4 separate regions of the Homo sapiens genome follow, and regions 2, 3 and 4 are each linked to region 1. The links are contacts of gene promoters, found by promoter capture Hi-C in human tissues and cell types (Jung and others, 2019). All regions are on one chromosome and are shown on one strand. Each heading gives the region's core, a stretch centred on a gene start or on the middle of the fragment in contact. The rest is flanking DNA. Distances are from core to core; before and after follow the strand shown.

Region 1 (2,891 bases), core at 247-2,746:
GCCATAGAGAAGGAGCTTGGAAGGAGTGAAGGTGTGGGGAAGATAGTGACCAGGGAGTTGCGGTTGGCAAAATGTCACCAGCTGCCTTTGTCACACACTGGCCAACACCCTGCAAGGCCAAAGGAAGAGTCAGAAACAGGTAGGCCAGAGACAAAGGCACTGCTCTAGGAACTTCAGACCTGGAGCAAGATAGACAAGGCCAGCAGACACAGGGTGTGGAACATCAGACACACAGATGAGGTGGTCCAGTGAGGTGGGACCGCCGCAGGGCCAGTCAGGGCCGGCGTTGGTAGACACCTAGGACACAGGACACGACAGCCACTATGCATTATTCATCTCCGTGTCCCTTGCAAGCCCTGCATACCTCAGTTAACATTTGTTGAAGTGCCAAGAAAGGACACACAGACACAGGGAGAGAAGGTCAGTTACAGAAATGGAGGGAGTCACAACTCCTTGTCATAGCCCAGGGGTTAAGCTTGTGGGGTTTGGAGTTAGTCAGACCCTGGTTCAAATCCAGCTGGGTTCAGCCACTTGCTAACTGGAGAACCTGGACCTCAGTGCCCCCATCTCTAAAATGGAAATAACAGCACTATTTTACCGCAGCAGTTCAGCCATCTCCGGGGGCGGTAACAAGGCCCCCAAGCAGCGCACATTCCCATCTGTGGGATAGGCTAGGCAGGGGCTGGAGAACACATGTGACCTGAAGAGGAGGTAGGTGAAAGTGCTGAGCCCAGCCCCCGGCCGCGGCAGGAGGTCAGCACCGTTCAATCTGAATCCTGCTTCCTGACACAACGCAAATGCTCAGCAGAATTCGGAAAAGGGTGTGTGTGTTCTATCTGCGGATTATCCAGGACTTTTGAGCCCTCGCCGCCCTTGGACATATAGGAAAGCTGGGAGTTGCAAGGGCGAAACCGAGGTCGGAGTTTGAGAGGAGGGGTCACTGAGTGAGGAAGCAGCGCTGGCTGGGTCTCCCCCGCTCCCCCGCCCCAGCAGCCCTCCCGCCATATATACTTGAGCTTTACTCAATAAGAAACCTTTTCAGAAAAGGATAACGTCCCCAGATTGAGAGAGCCGGTCCTCTCCTCTGCCCTCTCCCCCTCCCATTTAATTGGGACGCCCCAGAAAGTCGCAGCCCCTTTGGCTAATCCCCTGGTTCCCTATTCCACTCCCATTCCACTCTCAGACCCCGCCCCTTCACTCCCACCCGCAACCTCCGCTCGATCCAGAGCCCCCCGGTGGAGACAAGGAACACAGGGACCATTCTTAACCCTTGGGGAGGATCTTCGCCCGTTGGTAAACGAGGACGCGCTCCAGCCAGACGAGCCCCAGGCGCGGGGTCCCCGGGGCTCCTGGCCGCGCCGTCGGAGCAGCCGGCGCGGCCCCGCCCTCCCCGCGCGCGGAGCGGCCGGGGCGGGGACTACAAGTCCCGGCGTGCCGCGCGCGCGCTCCCCCCTGGGGTTCCGGATGGTGAGCGGCGAAGGTAAGGCGAGCTCGCAGAGGCAGCGGCGGCGGCGGCGGAGACGGAGAGAGGCAGGCAGGCAGGGCGAGGGCGAGAGACGGAGGGAGGGAGCGAGCGAGGCGGACCAGACAGACAGACAGGCGGGCGGGCGGGCAGAGCGAGCCACCCGCCAGGCTGCGCTCAGCCCCGCTCGCAGCGGAGAGAGCAGAAGGCAGGAGGAGGGAGGGGAGGAGGGGGAGGGAGGGAGAGAGGGAATCCAGCTACCACCACCCAAAGCCAGCGTCTGCTTTCTGTCCTCATTTCCTTTTCCCACCCAGCTTGGAGAGCAGAGAAAGGCAGAGAGAGCGAGAAATAGAGACAGTCTGAGAGACAGACAGACAGCCAGAGAGAGCGGGAGGGAGGAGGGCGGAGGAGGAGGAGCAGGAGGACTACGCGGGGCGCGTTCCCTCCCAGGTTTGCTATTGGGGGGGGTGGGGGCGGGGGTGTCCAGGGCTGGGAGAGTGTGTGCGCGGCGGGAGGGCGAGGGGGGCGCAGAGAGAGCGAAGGAGTGATCGAGGTGGGGGGGCGCCGCGGGAGCGGGGGGCCGTGTCCAGCGGAGTTAGCGGCGGAGAATGTGAGCCGAGGCGCGAGCCATGCTGTCAGCGACGGCGGGCGGCTCAGGGCTCCTCCACGACTCCTCTCCTCAGCAGCCGGGCGCCCGCGTCGCTGCCACCGCCGGAAGACAGACGTCCCCCAAAACCCCTCGCCTGGCTCGGACCCACGGAGCCGGCAGCCCAGCACTCCGGTGAGTGGCGCCTCCTCCCCAGCCCCAGACCCCCGCTGGGGACCGGCCGGCCAGGCTCTTTTGTGCAGCGCACGGGGGGGGCCTGCGTCCCCCGGTCCGGTCCGCTGGACCCGGTGGCTGCGGTGCCCGCGGTGCGATCGGTCTTTGTTTCCACCGGGGCCCGCGGCTCGGCTGGGCTCGGCTCGAAGCCTGGCAGGCAGCGCCGGGAAGGGGGAGGGGGAGGTGGACGGGGAGGGGGGGCGGGGAGGGGGGGTTCTCGGGTTTCCTGGCCGCCCCGCGGCTCCCCCGGCTCGGGGGCGAGGTGCGCGCCCAGCGCTGCCGCGCGCCCCCTCCTCCTTCCCCCTCCCTCCGCCTTTGGATTTAAAACTGCAATTTGCTCTCCAGCTTGCTGAGAATGTGGGGGGGGGGGGAATGAAGGGGGGACCGTGGGAGCGGAGAACAAGGCTGGATTTTAGGATCGGCGCTGGGAAAAGGGGAGACTGCGGAGGGAGGAGCCCCTCCCCTCCAACCCCCAAATCCCTAGGATCCACTGGCTCTCGGGGAGTTGAGGGGCGGGGACCTAATGACCCGGAGGGGGTGTGGGGCGGAGGAGGGATTTGGGGGCGGCTAGGGCTGGAGGGGTTGGGCCGCGTGCCCGGTTACCTGGCG
Region 2 (2,891 bases), core at 260-2,759, 570 kb after region 1:
GTCAAATGGCAAGAACACCGAGTTTATGAGGATAAAACATGACAGTGGCAAGAGAAGTGTCCTGTAAACTGCAGAGTGCAGTCCTCCTGGGAGGGAAGGACAGTTGTTGTTGTTGTTAGGGGCTCATGTTTTGCCTTCCAGCGGCGCCGGGCGAGCAGATTAGCCTGGCCTCGTTCTCACGGTGGGAGACCTCCTCCGTCCTCCCCAGGAACCACGGCCCCTGCCCTGCCCAGATCAGCAATAGCCCTCCATAAGCCTCCCACCTGGAGGGAGGTGGCGGGCAGGGAACAGCCAGGTAACCGTGGGCTCCTCACTGCAAGGGCCCAGCTCAGATTGAAGGCAGAGGGAACGAGCGAGCGAGGAGGAAGTGGGGAGAGACGGAAGGAGGGGCAAGCGAATCAAAGCACTAGGGATTTACTCACCCAAGCAGGGACAGGGAAGGAGATGGGGCTAGCAGGGCGGGGGACGCCCATGCGCCGCCCCTTCAGAGGACAATTCCCGGGGCCTCACTCCCTCCCACTCTCTCCCTCCCCCGCGGCCCATTCCCGGTGCGACTCCTCCCGTGGGAACTGCTGTCGCTGCAGCGGGCGCCCTGCCACGTGGATGCCAGGAATCAGACTGGGCGGCTGCGGCAGGGCGGGCGCTTCCCTGGGCAGCGATCAGGGCAGGCCTGGGAGAGGGCTGACCCTCACTGGGGTCTGGGGAGAGGGCGGCTCTGGGCGGAAGGGCACCTCGGGAACTGGACGCCCTGGGCTTCGCAGCCCCTCAGATCTGCAGCCAAGGTCATCTTTTCCCAGCTTGAGGAGCAACAACTGGGCACCACCTGGGAGCAGGTTAGAAATGCAGGCTCTCAGGTCTAGCCCCAGACTTGCTGACTCAGAACCTGCACATTCCAAGGAATGTGCCCCAGGTGGCTCCCGGGCACTTTCAAATTTGAGAAGCCTTTTTTCTACAAGAGTAGGCCTGAGTATTTACAGGTTTAAAAAGACGCGGTGGCTCACGACTGTAATCCCAGCACTTCGGGAGGCCGAGGCCGGCTGATCACGAGGCCAAGAGATGGAGACCACCCTGGCCAACGTGGTGAAACCCCGTCTCTACTAAAAATACCAAAAAAAAAAAAAAAAAAAAAAAAATAGCTGGGCTTGGTGGCGTGCGCCTGTAGTCCTAGCTACTCGGGAGGCTGAGGCAGGGAGGATCGCTTGAACCCAGGAGGCAGAGGTTGCAGTGAGCCGAGATCGCGCCACTGCACTCCAGCCTGGTGACAGAGCAAGACTCCGTCTCAAAAAAAAAAAAAAAAAAAAAAAAAAAGACAGACAAGGCCAAGGCCAGGCACGGTGGCTCATGCTTGTAATCCCAGCACTTTGGGAGGCCGAGGAGGGCGGATCACTTGAGCCCAGGAATTCAAGACCAGCCTGGGCAACACTGTGAGACCCAGTCTCTACAAAAAAAAAAAAAAAAAAAAAAAAATTAGCCAGGTGTGGTGGCGTGCACCTGTAGTCTCAGCTACTGGTGAGGCTGAGGTGGGAGAATAGATTCAGCCCAGGAGGCAGAGGTTGCAGTAACCCTTGATTGAGCCACTACACTCTAGACTGGGCAACAGAGCGAGGCTCTGTCTCAAAATAAATAAATAAATAGGCTGGGCGCAGTGGCTCACGCCTGTAATCCTAGCACTTTGGGAGGCCGAGGCGCACCTGAGGTCAGGAGTTTAAGACCAGCGTAGCCAACATGGTGAAACCCCGTCTCTACTAAAAATACAAAAATTAGCCAGGCGTCGGCCAGGCGCGGTGGCTCACGCCTGTAATCCCAGCACTTTGGGAGGCCGAGGCGGACGGATCACAAGATCAGGAGATCAAGACCATCCTGGCTAACATAGTGAAACCCGTCTCCTCTACTAAAAATACAAAAAAAATTAGCCGGGCATGGTGGTGGGCGTCTGTAGTCCTAGCTACTCGAGAGGCTGAGGCAGGAGAATGGCGTGAACCCAGGAGGCGGAGCTTGCAGTGAGCCGAGATCACGCCACTGCACTCCAGCCTGGGCGACAGAGTGAGACTCCATCTTAAAAAAAAACAAAACAAAACAAAAGAAAAAAATTAGCCAGGCGTGGTGTCACATGCCTGTAATCCTAGCTACTTGGGAGGCTGAGGCAGGAGAATCACTTGAACCCGGGAGGAAGGGGTTGCAGTGAGCCAAGATCACGCCATTGCACACCAGCCTGGACAATAAGAGTGAATAAGAGTGAAACTCCATCTCAAAAAAAAAAAAAAATTAGTAGTGTATAAATAGACCACATAATCTATGAATTGTATTCCATTATAGGAAAGGGGCATTGCAAGATACTTGTTACAAAAGGGGGCGTGAGGCCTGCTGGGGCTGGGAACCCACTGAGGAACACTCACTCCTGTTTTCAATCAACAGCATGGCTCTGAGGAAACAGAAGCAGGAACTAAATGGCGCTTGAATCTGAGGAGCTTCTACCCTGGCAGGCGAGATGAGATAGAGACGCAAATCGCCACCTTCCTGAGCCTCAGTTTCTTCACCTGTGAAATGGGCTTTCTCACCACTCACCTCTGCCTGCCTCCCTGCAGGGTCGGATCAGATGGGCCGAACCAGCTTCTAGACAGGGAGGGGCTTCATGAGCCGCTCCACACCTGAGGGAAGGGAGATTGGAACATCTGCCCTGCTCACATCGTGCCAGGGACAGCTCAGGCTTCTGTGCCTATCTTGGTCTTCAGACTCCAGCCTCTGGCCCTGCAGATTCTCTCTCAGGGCCTCGTCTGCTTTCTCTGGTGTCCCTCTCTCTTCCACCTTCCTTCTCCACTCCCCTGTATCCCCGCACCACCGAAATCCACACCTGTCTGAAGCTTGTACCAAATTAGCAAATTGGCAGTTTC
Region 3 (2,891 bases), core at 210-2,709, 560 kb after region 1:
GGGCTCAGGCAATCTTCCCACCTCAGCCCCTGGAGTAGCTAGGACTACACGTGCATACCACCATGCCTGGCTAATTTTTTTATATTTTGTCAAGATGGGGTTTCACCATGTTGCCCAGACTGGTCTGGAACTCCTGGGCTCAAGCAATCAGCCCACCTTGGCCTCTCAAAGTGCTGGGATTGCAGGCATGAGCCAGTGCACCCAGCCTATGCCGAAATGTAATCCCCAGTGTGGCCATATTGAGAGGTAGGACCTCTAAGAGGTGATTGGATCATGAAGGCTCTGCCCTCATGAATGGATTAATCTCGTGGGTTAATGGATTAATGAGTTAATTGGTGATTATAGGAGTGGGACTGAGGACTTTATAAGAAGAGGAAGGGACACTGAGGGACACCACTCAGCCCCCTCACCATGCGACGTCATGCCCTCCCACAGGAGTCTGCAGAGAGCTCCCACCAGCAAGAAGACTCCCACCAGATGTGGCCCCTCGACCTTGGACTTCCCAGCCTCCAGAACTTTAAAAATACATTCATTTCCTTTAGAAATTACCCAGTTTCAGTATTCTGTTGTAAGCAACAGAAAACAAACTAAGACAGATGTCTGAATCTGTCAGAGCAGAGAAGTCCAGGCCCCAGCACAAGCTGTCATCCTGGAAGCTATCAGACCACATGCTTCCCAGGAAAGGAAGGGAGATGCAAGGTCGTGCAAACTGCAGGAAGCCCGCTGGCCTGTCCGGGCCCTGGGGGTCTGGTGCTGCTTCTCCCCTACCTGCCTTCAAATTTACCCCACCATCCACTTCATTCCCAGCAGATCTCACTGCCTATAGGCCTCAGGTGGCCAGAGACCAGGGACCTTTCTGCTCAGGATCTGCTTCCCAAGGACTCCTACTCTTTTCTCTGATTCTCCTTTTAGGGAATCCCTGAGACGCAGGAGCACTGTGGTGACTTCTTTCCTGCTGCTGTCACAGTCACGGGGCAGAGGGCAGAGACCCTAACCTAGAAGAGGAAGGTTTTCTCCCTGATGCCCCACAATTGTGCACCCAGCATACAGGGAAGAGCCAAGGAGCCAGGGAAACACTGCCCAGCCAGCACCCAGTGGGACAGATGTGTGCCCTGGCCCCGGTGCAGACCTCACTACCATGATGGCCTGCACACCCTGCCTGCCCACCTCCTTCCCCTTGGCCTGCTGCCCCTACCCCAGGGCAGGGTCTCAGCTGAGGAGGGAGCTGTGGTCACCCCAGCACTCCTTGCCTGCTGAGTTGGGATGGGACTGTGCTTGTAGTTATTCCCACTACATTCTGGAGAACTTTCCAGGCCCTTGGGAAGCGCATAGGAGGTGCTTCTTATGCTGCAGTCCTCCATGAATGTGAGTTTATGGGAAGGCCAGGGAAACAGTGAGGCCTGGGGACAGCTCTTCAGCCATCCTCTGGCCTGAGTAAAGCCGAGTATAGCAAAGAGATACAGCCTTCCCCGACGACCAGGACAGACCCAGAGGAGCAGTAGCCACTTTCTCACCTGTAAAATGGGAATGAAGCCGGAAGCGGTGGCTCACACCTGTAATCCCAGCACATTGGGAGGCTGAGGCAGGCGTATCACCTGAGGTCAGGAGTTCGAGACCAGCCTGGCCAGCATGGTGAAACTCCGTCTCTACTAAAAATACAAAAATTAGCTGGGCGTGGTGGTGTGCACCTGTAATTCCAGCTACTCGGGAGGCTGAGGCATGAGAATCACTTGCATCCAGGAGGCAGAGGTTGCAGTGAGCCGAGATCGCACCCCTGCACTCCAGCCTGGGTGACGGAATAAGATTTTGTCTCAAGAAAAAAAAGGGGGGGGAGGAATGAGAGCTTGAAAGGAGAGAAAGAAGTAAAGCTTTTTATTCATCCTCTGCTGAGGTGCCTTTTCCAGGTTTCCAGGGGGGTGTGGATACACCCAAAGGCAGGGCAGGGGTGGGGGGGGGGGCAGCATGGGATGGGGCCCTGAGATGGCAGAATTCATCCTCAAAGGTGAGTGAGGCCTTGCTCCTTCTGGGAGCAGCAAAGCCGGACAAGCAGAGACAAGGGCTGCTTCTTGGACACAAAGAATTCCTGGAGAGCCTCAGGAATACGACTTGGGGCCTGGACACTTTGTCAAATCAAAGATTGATTGAATCAGTGAATGGCTGAATTTATGGCTGGAGATGAGCTCACTTGGAAGCAGCCCTGTGATCATGAGAAAACTTGACCCAAAAGAGGGGGAATGGCCCGGCGCGGTGACTCACGCCTGTGATCCCTGCACTTTGGGAGGCCGAGGCGGGTGAATCACTTGAGCCCAGGGGTTCAAGACCAGCTTGGGCAACATAGCGAGACCACGTCTCAAAAAACTAAACAACAACAACCAAAAAAAAAAAGAAGGAAGGAGGAGGAGAAGAAGGATAAGGAGAAGGAGGAGAAGAAGAAGGTGGGGAGGGGGTGGGGAGAAAGGGTCCCGTGAAATCCTGAAGTCAGGAAACCTGACTCCTGCGGGGCCGCAAGGGTCAAAGAATTCCCCACGTGCGGCTGAGATTTTTGCCTCAGCGCCACCTGCTGGCGGTTACTGACCCTGGCTGCAGCTAGAAGTTACCGCCTGAATGGGGAAGATTTTGCAAAGAGGAGGACCAAGCTCTAAGATGGCCTGCCTGCTCAGCAATGGCTGCTACCTGATTCATCCTGATCCTTCCAGGAGTCGGCCAAGAAAATATATCAAAGCCTGGGAAAAGGCAAGAGATTTCTGGGTGTGTTCCTTTCAGAGGAGTGCCGGGTGTTGGCTGTGACCCTCTAGTGATGATCTGATTCTTTAGGGGTGTGTGCTTGTGTGCTTTTGATTGTCTTTGATTGGCTTTATAGCTCTGTAGGGATAGAGGCAATCTGAGGAAAA
Region 4 (2,891 bases), core at 280-2,779, 520 kb after region 1:
ATTTTACAGATAAGAAAACTGGGCTGGGTGCAGTGACTCACACCTGTAATCCCAGCACTTTGGGAGGCCGAGGCAGGCAGATCACTTGAGGTCAGGAGTTTGAGACCAGCTTGGCCAACATGGTGAAACCTGTCTTTACTAAAAATACAAAAATTAGCTGGGGCGCATGCCTGTAATCCCACCTACTCAAGAGGCTGAGGCAGGAGAATTGCTTGAACCCAGGAGGCGGAGGTTGCGGTGAGCCAAGGTCGTGCCACTGCACTCCAGTCTGGGTGACAAGAGTGAGACTCTCAAAGAAAACTGAGGCTCAGCTGCCCCATGCAATTTGACAGATAGGTCCAGAGCACCTGCTGTGTGTGTGTGTGTGTGTGTGTGTGTGTGTGTGTGTGTGTGTGTGTTGTGTGGCGGGGGGTGGTGTGTGTCTGTGGTGTGAGGTATGTGTGGGGTGTGTGTTTGGTGTGTGGTGTGTGGTTGTGTGTGTGGTGTTTGGTACGTGAGGTGTGTGTGTGGTGTGTGGTGTCTATGGGTGTTGTGTATGCTGTGTGTGTGTGTGGTGTGTGTGGATGTGGTGTGTGTGGTGTGATATGTGGGGTGTGTGGTGTGTGTGGGATAGGCGGTGTCTCTGTGTGTGATGTGTGTGGTGTGCAGGGTGTGTATGGGGTGTGTGGGGTGTGTGTATGTGTGTAGTGTGTGGTGTGTGTGGTATGTGGGATGTGTGGTGTGTAGTGTGTGTGGTGTGGTGTATGGATGTGGTGTGTGTGGTGTCTGTGTGTGTGGTATGTGGGGTATGTGGTATGTGTGTGGTGTGTATGTGTGGTGCAGTGTGTGGGCTGTGTGGTATGTGGTGTGTGTGTGGTGTGGTGTGTGTGATCTTTGTGGTGTGTGGGGGTGGTGTGTGAGGTGTATGTGGTGTGTGATGTGTGTGTGGTATGGTGTGTGTTGTGGTTGGCAGAATTGTAAGATGGCCTCCAAGATTCCTGCCTTTTGTTGTACAAGACATGTATAATCCCCTCCCCTTGACGGTATACAGGCAGAACCTGTATGGTGGGATATTGCTGTGATTAGGTTACATTATATAGCAAAGGTGAATATTGCAAATATAATTAAGGCCCCTAATCAGTTGACTTTGAATTAATCAGAAGAAACTCATCTTGGTGGGCCTGACCTAATCAGGTGAGCCTTTTACAGAGCGCTTTACTGCTGGCCTTGAAGGAGCAAACTGTCCTCTTGTGAAGGGGGTCACATGTCAGTGAGCAACTGGTGGCCTCTAGGAGCTACGAATGGCCCCTGTTGGCAGCCAGCAAGAAAGTAGAAACCTCAGTCCTCCAATTGCAGGAAACTGAATTCTGCAACAACCAATAAGCTTGGAAGATGACCCTGAGCCCCAGCTGGGGTCACAGTCTGGGCTAGTTCCTTGATTTCAGCCTGGTAAGATGCTAAGCAGAGGACTCAAAACATGCTGGGCTTCTGACCCACAGAAACTGTGACACAATAAATGTGTTTTTTGTTTGTTTGTTTGTTTGTTTGTTTGTTTTTGACGGAGTCTCGTTCTGTCACCCAGGCTGGAGTGCAATGGCACAATCTCGGCTTACTGCAACTTCCACCTCCTGGGTTCAAGAGATTCTCCTGCCTCAGCCTCCCAAGTAGCTGGGATTACAGGTGCGCGCCACCACACCTGGCTAATTTTTGTATTTTTAGTAGAGACGGTTTCGCCATGTTGACCAGGGTGGTCTCAAACTCCTGACCTCAGGTGATCTACCCACCTCAGCCTCCCAAAGTACTGAGATTACAGGCATGAGCCACCACGCCTGGCAAATGTGTGTTCTTTTAAGCCACTAAGTTTGTGGTAATGTATTACACAGCAATAGAAAACTAATACAGCCATTAGTTTACTTTTGTTTTGTTTGTGTGTGTGTTGGGGGTGGAGAGTGGATATTAGAAATGTTTTTAAAGTGGTGGGAAATGACCCAGTAGAGAAGGAAACACTTTGATAAAGTAAAAGAGGTAGAGATTCAGAATCAAGACATTCTGAGGCCAGGCACAGTGGCTCACATCTGTAATCCCAGCACTTTGGGAGGCTGAAGCAGGAGGAGCTCTTGAGTCCAGGAGTTCAAGACAAGCCTGGGCAACATAGAGACACTGTGTCTCTACAAAAAACAAAAGACAAAAAAACATAGCCAGGCATGGGTGGTGGCCCATGCCTGTGGCCCCAGCTAGTCAGGAGGCTGAGGTGGGAGGGTCGCTTCGCCCAGGAGATTGAGGCATGATTGCACCACTGCACTCCAGTCTTGGTGACAGAGCGAGACCCTGTCTTAAAAAGAAGGAGAAGGAGGAAAAGAAGGAGAAGAAAGAGAAGAAGGGGAAGAAGAAGGAGGAGAAGAAGAAAAGAAGAAAGAAGAGAGAGAAAAAAAAGACACCCTTGAGAGAAGTAGGGACAACATCTCCAAAGTAGGAAGAAGCAGATGGGTTTGCAGATTTTGTGGAGGAAAGATGAAAAGGTGTCTGTGTGACTGAAGGCATTAATTCTCTCAATAAATAGTCAGGCAAGGTTACCAAATCAAATGAGAATGAATCTAGAAAGGGAAATAGGAAATTTGAAGAAAGAGGAAAAGAAGTGAAATAGTTACCTTGAGAAAGAGGAGAAGAAAGAAACTGTTCGTGTTAGAAAAACAGTAGAGTTTTCCGTGTCGAGTCCCTTTGATGTTTGAGAACAGTGGCACTGCTCAGCTCAGCTGTACGAATTTGTCAGTGATCTTCAGATACTTGAGTGCAGGCACCAAGACAGATGGGTTTTGCCAGGCAAATAAGATGAAGTCAAAGAGGGGTTATGGAGTTCCAGGTATTGGCAAAGAGATAGTGATAATGATAAACCATAGACCCTAGAAGAGACC

Evidence for each region. Contacts are between HindIII fragments. The study calls those that stand out against the background at their distance.
Region 2: a contact is called between a fragment that was not itself captured here and the fragment with the promoter of AHDC1 in region 1, in 1 of the 25 tissues and cell types used here (lymphoblastoid cells).
Region 3: a contact is called between a fragment that was not itself captured here and the fragment with the promoter of AHDC1 in region 1, in 2 of the 25 tissues and cell types used here (hippocampus and lymphoblastoid cells).
Region 4: a contact is called between a fragment that was not itself captured here and the fragment with the promoter of AHDC1 in region 1, in 2 of the 25 tissues and cell types used here (lymphoblastoid cells and neural progenitor cells).

What each region holds. Positions count from the first base shown.
Region 1 is chr1:27,602,749-27,605,639 of GRCh38, reverse strand. AHDC1 (AT-hook DNA binding motif containing 1) reads left to right here and starts at 1,496. Exons shown (of 9, transcript NM_001371928.1): 1 at 1,496-1,534; 2 at 1,777-1,912; 3 at 2,146-2,243. RefSeq lists silencers at 1,152-1,691, 2,242-2,321 and an enhancer at 2,805-2,854. The HindIII fragment of the contact is 10,400 bases long and covers 1-2,891 here.
Region 2 is chr1:27,029,361-27,032,251 of GRCh38, reverse strand. It overlaps LOC101928391 (a long non-coding RNA gene), which reads right to left and starts at 494. Exons shown (of 8, transcript XR_007065559.1): 1 at 423-494. The HindIII fragment of the contact is 5,333 bases long and covers 1-2,891 here.
Region 3 is chr1:27,045,762-27,048,652 of GRCh38, reverse strand. All of the region lies in intron 5 of LOC101928391 (a long non-coding RNA gene), which reads right to left. Among named protein-coding and RNA genes, the nearest start is that of TENT5B, 34 kb to the right of the region's middle. RefSeq lists an enhancer at 1,849-2,349. The HindIII fragment of the contact is 8,236 bases long and covers 1-2,891 here.
Region 4 is chr1:27,084,537-27,087,427 of GRCh38, reverse strand. No RefSeq gene overlaps it. Among named protein-coding and RNA genes, the nearest start is that of SLC9A1, 69 kb to the left of the region's middle. The HindIII fragment of the contact is 7,329 bases long and covers 1-2,891 here.